3 separate regions of the Homo sapiens genome follow, and regions 1 and 2 are each linked to region 3. Evidence: promoter capture Hi-C in 16 types of primary human blood cells and fetal thymus (Javierre and others, 2016). All regions are on one chromosome and are shown on one strand. The core of a region is centred on a gene start or on the middle of the fragment in contact, and the rest is flanking DNA. Distances in the headings are between cores, read along the strand shown.

Region 1 (2,911 bases), core at 289-2,788, 67 kb before region 3:
AGTTGGAGATCAGCCTGGCTAACATGGTGAAACCCTGTCTCTACTAAATATGCAAAATTAACTGGGCATGGTGGCGCATGCCTGTAGTCCCACCTACTCGGGAGGCTGAGGCAGGAGAATTGCTTGAACCCAGGAGGCGGAGGTTGCAATGAGCTGGGATCACACCACTGCACTCCAGCCTGGGTGAGAGTGAGACTCTGTCTCAAAAAAACACAAAAAAAAAAACAAAAAAAGAAATCTCAATGAAGTCTTGTAGTTCAATGACAGTATAAAGGACACCAAAGGTCTCTAAAGAGGAACTTTCCTCATAAGAAAAATGATATATGTTTGGAGACAGAGAGAAGAGAAAGTTAGTAAAATTGTTTCTTATTTATTTAAATGCTAGAGTATGTAGCTCAGCAAGGGTGAAATATTGGCTGCAGGATGAGGTTGGAAGTCTATCCTGACCCAGTCACAAGGCATTATGGCAGACTTTGTGAAGAGAAGCCTAACTTGTGCCAGTAAATTTGAAAGTCCATGTGTGAGAACCTTAAGCCATCACAACTCAGGCACTTAAATCATCTTCCCTTTGATAGAGTCAGATAGCGATAGCAAGGCATTATGGTATCTTTGGACAAAGCAGAATTGGACCCTGTGCTTTCACCTGTTTTTAACAGTGACCCCACATATCAAGAAGAGAAAGTAACTGCACTGTATCACTAAGGATCTTTACCTGACCACATCCTTATAAATGTCTCATTATAAGTATGCCCTCCTCAAAGTATTCAAATTGGAATGGGTTGGCTAGGTGCAGTGGCTCAATCCTGTAACCCCAGCACTTTGGGAGCCCGAAGCAGGCAGATTCCCTGAGGTCAGGAGTTCAAGACCATCCTGGCCAACATGGCGAAACTCCTGTCTCTACTAAAAATACAAAAATAAGCTGGGTGTGGTAATGCATGCCTGTAATCCCAGCTACTAGGGAAGCTGAGGCAGGAGAATTGCTTGACCCAGGGGGAGGAGGTTGCAGTGAGCTGAGATCGTGCCACTGCACTCCAGTCCAGGCGACAGAGGGAGACTCCATCTCAAAAAAAATAAAATAAAATAAAATAAAAATAAAAAATAAAAACAACTGGGTTATCTGTTTTGTAATAAGACTAACATTCTGCTCATTCAATTTGGGAGTATGCAAGTCATTAGAAAGAGCAGTTTTGCTGGGCGCGGTGGCACACGCCTGTAATCCTAGCACTTTGGGAGGCCGAGGCAGGTGGATTACCCGAGGTCAGTTCAAGACCAGCCTAGCCAACATGGTGAAACCCCGTGTCTACCAAAAATACAAAAATTAGCCGGGTGTGGTGGCAGGCACCTGTAATCCCAGCTACTCTGGAGGGTAAGGCAGGAGAATGGCTTGAACCCGGGAGGTGGAGGTTGCACTGAGCCGAGATCGTGCCACTTTACTCCTCCAGCCTGGGCAAAAGAGCAAGACTCAAAGAAAGAAAGAAGGAAAGAAAAAGAAAGAAGGAAGGAAAGAAAGAAAGAAAGAAAGAAAAAGAAAAGAAAGAAAGAAAAAGAAAGAAAGAAAGAAAAAGAAAAGAAAGAAAGAAAAAGAAAAAGAAGAAAGAAAGAAAGAGAAAAAAAGAAAGGGCAGTTTCAACACAGTGATAGGACAGATTTTATATGGATGGCCATAGATTTTAAAGATAAAGAAGTGAAGGCAATATACAAGAATGTCTCTTACAAGAGGTTGGGTCAGTGAAAAGTAGACCTTAGGGATACAGGAGAGAGACTAAGAAGTGCCATCGAAAGACCTAAGATGTATATGGAATTGAGGTATTTTTTGAAACTGGCAGTCCTTGGAATCTTTGTATACTAAGGAGCATGATTCAGGAGAGAGGAAAAGACTGTTAATATAGGAGAGGGAATACAATCACATCTGTTCTTTTATTTTGAACACACACATATGTTAGTTAACAACACTATTGATATATTAGTAAACAATTTAAGCCTAACTGAATTTTACATTTGCTTATGTTCAATTTCATCCACTAGAAATACTGACTGAATGCAGTGTCAAAAGACAAAATTACAATGAATTTAGGTTAAAAATACAATTGGCTTTGATTTATTATTCTAGAATCAGGTAACACCTCATTGTATAAAATATAATGAGGGGTTCTGATTAGCTCAGCAGAGGAGGTTGGCTTTTTAGCCATAAAAGAGCTGAAGAAAGTAGAAACAGAGAACAAAAAGCAGGTTGGACATTTCAAAGTTTCTTTCCTGATGGAATTAAAACAGAGGAGAATTCCATATTATGCTGACTCAGGTTGACTGAAATTTCTGTTATTTGATGGAAAACTGGCCCATTTCAAAGTTTGGTTTGATTACCTGGCACCTAGCACAAGTGACTCCATTCTGATTTGAGCTGGTCTGCTGGGGCCTAGTATAGAAGGCTAGTCCAAAACAATAGTATCCCATAAACTTTGTTTAACCATTCCCCCCGCTTTGGGTCATGCTCTCACCTAGGTTAGAGCATCAGTGCCACTCTCCATCACCATTGTTTTGAGTTTTCAGTCTCATCATGTTATTCATAGATTACAGTGTCCTTGTTATCATGCATCTTCTGGAGTTTGTCATGCCAGGCAGAGAGAGACCATTTAGCATTCAGCAGATGGCTGCATGTAGCTATTAAGATTTTTGAGAGTATACAGCACGCTAGGAAGATTACTACTACTACTATTGTGACTGACATGGTTTGGCTGTGTCCCCACCCAAAGCTCACCTTGAGTTGTAACAATCCCCACATGTCAAGGGCAGGGCCAGGTGGAAATAACTGAATCATGGGGGCGGTTTCTCCTATCCTGTTCTCCTGGTAGTGAATAAGTCTCACAAGATCTAATGGTTTTATAAATGGGAGTTCCCCTGCACAAGCTCTCTT
Region 2 (3,012 bases), core at 388-2,887, 89 kb before region 3:
TATTCCTGTGTTCCTTAATGTGCTGCACAATGTCATCCCCCCTGCACTCAACCCCCTGGCCTGTGCACTCAGGATGCACAAACTCAGACTGGGCTTTCAGAGACTGCTTGGACTGGGTCAGGACGTGTCCAAGTAACTCCAGCTTTAGGAATCCAGTAAGATGTTAGGAAATGACAGAGGTTTTAGTTCTCAATAGATCAGGGTTATAATCTGCACTTACCACACTCCCTAGGAAAAAAATGGCCAATAAAATCATGAAAACTGTCAGCCTCACTAATCAAAATATGTATATTAAAATTACAAGAAAATTTCCTATTACCTGGAAAATAAGTAAGAACAAAAAAGTGAAATGTTTCTAACTATTACTGCTAGCCTACCCCGAGATTAACACTTTCCTACACAACTGGTAGGACTATAAACACACCAAAAAGCAATTTGGTAAAATTTATCAAAATGTTTATAAATGTTTAAATGTTCTTAACCAGTAATTCTATTTTAGAAAAATATCCAAAAGAAATAGTCTAAATGCAGTCAAAAAGTTATTCATAAAAATCATTATAATATGACTAATAATAGAAAACAAAGCCTTTAATATTTACACATATTTAACTCTTACATATTTATGTGCTTTTCATATGTAATTTTTATAATAAAAAGTAAACAATAAATGTTTATTAAAAAGGAGTAAAGTTTAATTTTCGTACCCAAAAAAATCTCAATAATTAATGAATTAATGGTTAACAAGTGTTAAATACTTCTTGTAGGCCAGAAACTTTGATAAAATATGTATGTAGATTATCTGACTCAATTCTCACAATAACCCTTTGGGCAGGTACAATATTATTCCCAATTTCCAGCTAAGAAAACTCAGGCACTGGAAATTATAGAACTTGCCCCCTGACAGCACAGTTTCTAAGTGGGAGAGCTGGGATTCAAGTCCTGGGAAGTCTGATTGAAAAACCATAGCACTATTCTTACTCTCAGTCTTGCTCTGTTCCAAAATTTCTGTGTGAACTTGAACAACTTATGAAACCTCCCTATGTTTCAATTCTTCTGATTAAAAGTGACAAAAATCATAACATTTTGCTGAGCCAAATCGCAAACATGCTGTGACAATCAAAAGAGATAAAGAATACATGCTTTGAAATAAGATATACACATGGAAATATAAATCTAACTATGTGGCAGTTTTCTTGCTAGGAAAGGAAGAAAATGGATCCTAGAAAATGCCCTATAAAAATAGTTTCAAATAACCTGTTAATTAAAGCTAACTGAATTTTTGCTGTTTGCTCACCTAAAAAAATTGCACACTTTTTGAGTACAAGAACCATTCATGTGTACTTTCAATGAGCCTCAGTCAGAACATTGCACACAGTAGGTGCTTAATTCATTATATAATCAGGGAGCATTATAGATCTGTTGAATTATGTGTATCAAAGAAAATACCTGGACCATGGTCTGAATAATGACCTCAGGAAGTTTGCACATGAGTCCACCTTGGAAAACAACTTCTTAGGAAATAGCACAAGGACTAAAGCAACATCAGAAACCATCAGCTCATCTCACCAGAGTAATGCATGCTGGGCAGCATAACAGAGCTGCAGGGGGAAGTCATCTGTGTGCGGGACAGGACTTCTTAAGAGTTATGCTTGGAAACTTACCCAAAAAGAGACTATCAACTTCCTCCAAAAGAATTGGCTGCTTCATTCTTTCTTGACAGTGATTCAAATGGAAGCAACTGATCATCTAATAAGAGGAGGCAAGAGAGAGACAATTACAGAAAGGATTTTAACTTAACTCAACCTCCCATGGTTTGTTACCCTGAAGGATCAGAGTAATAACATCTAATCCTGCAGAGTTCTTCACAGTTTGCAAAATACTTTCCCACAGTGGATTGAGTAATTTCACATAATTTTCATAGCAGTCCTCTTAATTAGGAAGCTGTTAAAGGATTACTATTAATTCTTTTCTACAAAGAAATAGGGGCTAAGTTTGGGTAATTATATAAATTCACCCACTGGGAAGTGGCAGTACTGAGGCTCAGGCAGTTTAGCTGTCTCTGGTAGATGGCAATAGTGTGCCATCCTCAAAGCTGCCTTTAAACTTTCATTCATACATACCTTTATTTATTTATTTGTTTATTTATTCATTCATTCAAAAATACATAGCATGAGTCTATGCACAGCAGCCCAAATTGTAGGCCACTCTCAACAACTTCTGTGGACATGTGTCTCAGTTCTTCTGAAAATAAATAAACACCTAACATTCATCTTGGAGTCAGGAAGATTTATGCAATTAATTATTCTCTCCTCTATATGTGCCATGAGGATAAAAAAAGATTGTGCATTGTTTTATTTTTATGAATTATTTATGTTTGTCATGTATTTCATATTTGCCCATATGCTTTGCTTTATATGATTTTAATACTGTCATACTATATTTGCCTGTTTGTCTTCTCTCATTCACTTCTTTCCATATTCCTTTGATATTTTAACTTTAGTCTGTCTTTTGGAAACACCGTTAGTTTGATCTTTATTTTTAACCATATTTGAGGAACTTTCCCTTTAAATAGGGGAACTAAGTCCATTCATATTTGTTATAATTCCTATGATTTTGTTTTGTTTCACCCTGTCATCTTATTTATTTTTATTATGTTTTCTGGCAGATTTCTCCTACTCCTGACTTTTGCTGAACTGATCTCTTTCACACATCTCCCCACATCCCCATTTCATTGATCTGCACATTTTATTAAATATATCTATTTGACAGGTTGTTGTATGCATAACTTTATTAACACATTCAAACTTATACTTTTTTATTAATATGCCCAAATTACATAATAGTTATGCAGTATTTTCTCATTCCAATTCCAAGCTCAAGATAAGAACTTTATCATTTTTATGTCTCTTTTATTCTCTGTTGAACATCTCACTGAATATGGCACATTCCAAAGACAAGCATAATAATAGCTCCCACCTCACATGCTCTTTTGCAGTGAAACATTAACAATTC
Region 3 (3,273 bases), core at 359-2,858:
TGAAACTGTAGGAGCCCCTATTAGTCAGCAAAAGCTGTTTGGACTAGCAGTCTGTCCCACACTTAAAAGCAATATATATTTATTCATAGCTAACTACATGCCAGACATTGTGGTAAGCAGTAGAGACACTGTAGCTAATAAAAAGCAATATCTGCAACTCTTTTTGTCTCGTGGGGAATTGAGAGACAAGAAATTACAACAGAGTGGGCTAGATGCTATTAAAGAATAAACCAAGGAATTTTCTCCCGGACTTCAGTGAGCCAGCAAAGACCTCCCTGAGAAAGTGTTCCTTGCCCAGATCTTTCCACCTGATAGTCTCTTTCCTGGCTTGCCCCCATCTCTGCCTCCTTACTCTACTTCCTGAGTCACCAGCCCATCAGCACTGAGCAAAGAGATACAAAACAGAGTTAATGTGGCACAGGTGGGAGGGAGAAAGGCCCTGAGGGAAGCAGGTAGAACAGCCACATAAAGAGCCCCACAGGCACTGATTAAAGCGAAGAGAAGCTGCCAACACACAGTGCTCGAGATCTTTCCCAGTCAAGCCTTCTGCTGGTGATTTCTTCCTCATTCATTTATCCATTCAACATGTATTAAGCTTCTTAGGTGGGCTGGATCCCACCTAAGTCAATCTACTTGTCCTGCCTCCTCCAATGTCAGAGATGCTTCTTCCTCAGATGGCTGCTACTCTGAGTTGAGTGCCATTTTCTCCCTCTATGTCACCTCCACTCGCTCTGGCATGCCAGGAATGAGACTCTAGTGGGACCCACTTTTGTACCGTGAAGAAGGAAAGGAAACGGAGAAGAAAAGTCCCGTTTCGTACTGCCATCTCTCTCTCTGTTGCTTCCCAGCCCCAACTTCAACTCTCCAGCTGGTGTTCAGCATCAAGTTCAGAACGTAAGCACCCTGCACCCCAAAAACCCAGCAAGTTTTCCCTTGCCACACCAAGCTCCCAGATTCACTCCAGATTCCATCTGCCTCCCACTACGGTTTCTCCCTTTCTTTATACTCTGCCTCCTCTCTTCCTGGATGGTTGGTGCTGAGAATGGGCAATTGCTCAGAGCTGGGCAAACCTTAATATCACTGTACCCACCAGGCCTATACAGCTGAAGAAGCTGAGGTCCAGAGATCTTGCCCAAGGATACACAGGCAGGGACAGGACAGCCGGAAGCCTGATTCCCCACCCTGCCCCCAGCACTGGCTTTCTCCTCATATAGAGACTGAGACTGACTCTATTTGGACCCTGAGGAAGAAAAGTATTCATCTCCACTCCACCCTCTGCTGACATCCAATTAGAAGGCTCTCTCAGGCTATCTATACCAACCACTGCAGCAGGCAGCCTCTTCCTCACTACCCCTTCCTCCCACTACAATACATATAGACTTTTAGGAGCAAAGGATTCTCCTATCTTAGCTAGAATTGCGACCTTAATTATCCATCCAAACCCCCCTAACCAAAAGTTATAAACCTGTGATCCTCCCAGCCCTGCACTACTCCTACACGTATGCCATGGATGGGTTTGTGCCACTGTGAGACCCCCAAAATCTCTCCCCTTATCTTCCCTGTCAGGAGTCATGCCCCCATGAGCCCTCAAGTTGTGCCCACCACAGAATGGCAGAAACTCTACAACTCAATTCCACCTTCCTACACCCAAACTTCTTCATACTGACTGGCTTTCCAGGGCTAGGAAGTGCCCAGACTTGGCTGACACTGGTCTTTGGGCCCATTTATCTGCTGGCCCTGCTGGGCAATGGAGCACTGCCGGCAGTGGTGTGGATAGACTCCACACTGCACCAGCCCATGTTTCTACTGTTGGCCATCCTGGCAGCCACAGACCTGGGCTTAGCCACATCTATAGCCCCAGGGTTGCTGGCTGTGCTGTGGCTTGGGCCCCGATCTGTGCCATATGCTGTGTGCCTGGTCCAGATGTTCTTTGTACATGCACTGACTGCCATGGAATCAGGTGTGCTTTTGGCCATGGCCTGTGATCGTGCTGCGGCAATAGGGCGTCCACTGCACTACCCTGTCCTGGTCACCAAAGCCTGTGTGGGTTATGCAGCCTTGGCCCTGGCACTGAAAGCTGTGGCTATTGTTGTACCTTTCCCACTGCTGGTGGCAAAGTTTGAGCACTTCCAAGCCAAGACCATAGGCCATACCTATTGTGCACACATGGCAGTGGTAGAACTGGTGGTGGGTAACACACAGGCCACCAACTTATATGGTCTGGCACTTTCACTGGCCATCTCAGGTATGGATATTCTGGGTATCACTGGCTCCTATGGACTCATTGCCCATGCTGTGCTGCAGCTACCTACCCGGGAGGCCCATGCCAAGGCCTTTGGTACATGTAGTTCTCACATCTGTGTCATTCTGGCCTTCTACATACCTGGTCTCTTCTCCTACCTCACACACCGCTTTGGTCATCACACTGTCCCAAAGCCTGTGCACATCCTTCTCTCCAACATCTACTTGCTGCTGCCACCTGCCCTCAACCCCCTCATCTATGGGGCCCGCACCAAGCAGATCAGAGACCGACTCCTGGAAACCTTCACATTCAGAAAAAGCCCGTTGTAATGTCCAGTGGTAACAATGGAGCCTAAGAGTGGAGGTGAGGGGACAATCGGAGGGGAGTCTGGGGGTGTGGATCATGTTATTTTCATCCCACTGCATATGACTGTTATCATCATTTAACAGGTACTTGCTGTGGAGTCCCTATGTGCAACACTGGCATCTGTAGACTTTGACTTAAACATGTATTCTGCTTGGGAGGAGGCAGGAGGTAGAGGTCAGGGGGCTACACTACCATGCAGGAAAAATTAGTGAAGGACCATAATAAACAAGATCTAACAACTCCCTTTCCTGCTCCCCACCTCCATTATTTCAACCTAAGTCTGCCCACGTTTCCACACAAAAGCTCCTCTATAGATCCCAAACTTGAGGGAAGTGCTTGGCACTGCCGCAGAGGGTGGCGCTGTCCCTGGAGTCAAGTGCTTGGGCACCCGTCTGAAATCACAGCCCTCTCTACTCCTGGAGCCAGATTCTGTTTTCAGACTGCCCTCAGGAAACGAGTTCTACAGGCTCATCTCCTGCCTTCCGATAAACTAAATAATGTGCCCTGTGGTACCAATTTGGCCACTTCAAATTCAAAGAATCCTCTTTTGGTCTCATGTGTAATTACTATTCTTCCTTCCCCCAACTCCCACCAAAGCCCCCAAAATTAACAGCTGTAACTTCTTCCCCTGTGACTGCAGCTGCAGAGGTCAGGGGTCCACTGAA

The links. Contacts are between HindIII fragments. The CHiCAGO score rates a contact against its expected background, and 5 or more counts as called.
Region 1: a fragment that was not itself captured here is called in contact with the fragment with the promoter of OR52W1 in region 3 in 4 of 17 cell types (monocytes, neutrophils, M1 macrophages and 1 more); the score reaches 7.8 in monocytes.
Region 2: a contact is called between a fragment that was not itself captured here and the fragment with the promoter of OR52W1 in region 3, in 2 of 17 cell types (neutrophils and monocytes). The highest score is 7.5, in neutrophils.

The regions. Positions count from the first base shown.
Region 1 is chr11:6,130,339-6,133,249 of GRCh38, forward strand. No RefSeq gene overlaps it. Among named protein-coding and RNA genes, the nearest start is that of OR56B4, 24 kb to the left of the region's middle. The HindIII fragment of the contact is 5,709 bases long and covers 1-2,911 here.
Region 2 is chr11:6,108,603-6,111,614 of GRCh38, forward strand. LOC124902622 (a long non-coding RNA gene) reads right to left here. Exons shown (of 3, transcript XR_007062565.1): 2 at 1,662-1,746. It overlaps OR56B4 (olfactory receptor family 56 subfamily B member 4), which reads left to right. Exons shown (of 1, transcript NM_001005181.2): 1 at 1-233. The coding sequence ends at 136. Among named protein-coding and RNA genes, the nearest start is that of OR56B4, 2.4 kb to the left of the region's middle. The HindIII fragment of the contact is 4,061 bases long and covers 1-3,012 here.
Region 3 is chr11:6,197,616-6,200,888 of GRCh38, forward strand. It overlaps OR52W1 (olfactory receptor family 52 subfamily W member 1), which reads left to right and starts at 1,609. Exons shown (of 1, transcript NM_001005178.1): 1 at 1,609-2,571. The coding sequence starts at 1,609. The coding sequence ends at 2,571. RefSeq lists enhancers at 1,423-1,923, 1,924-2,424. The HindIII fragment of the contact is 17,873 bases long and covers 594-3,273 here.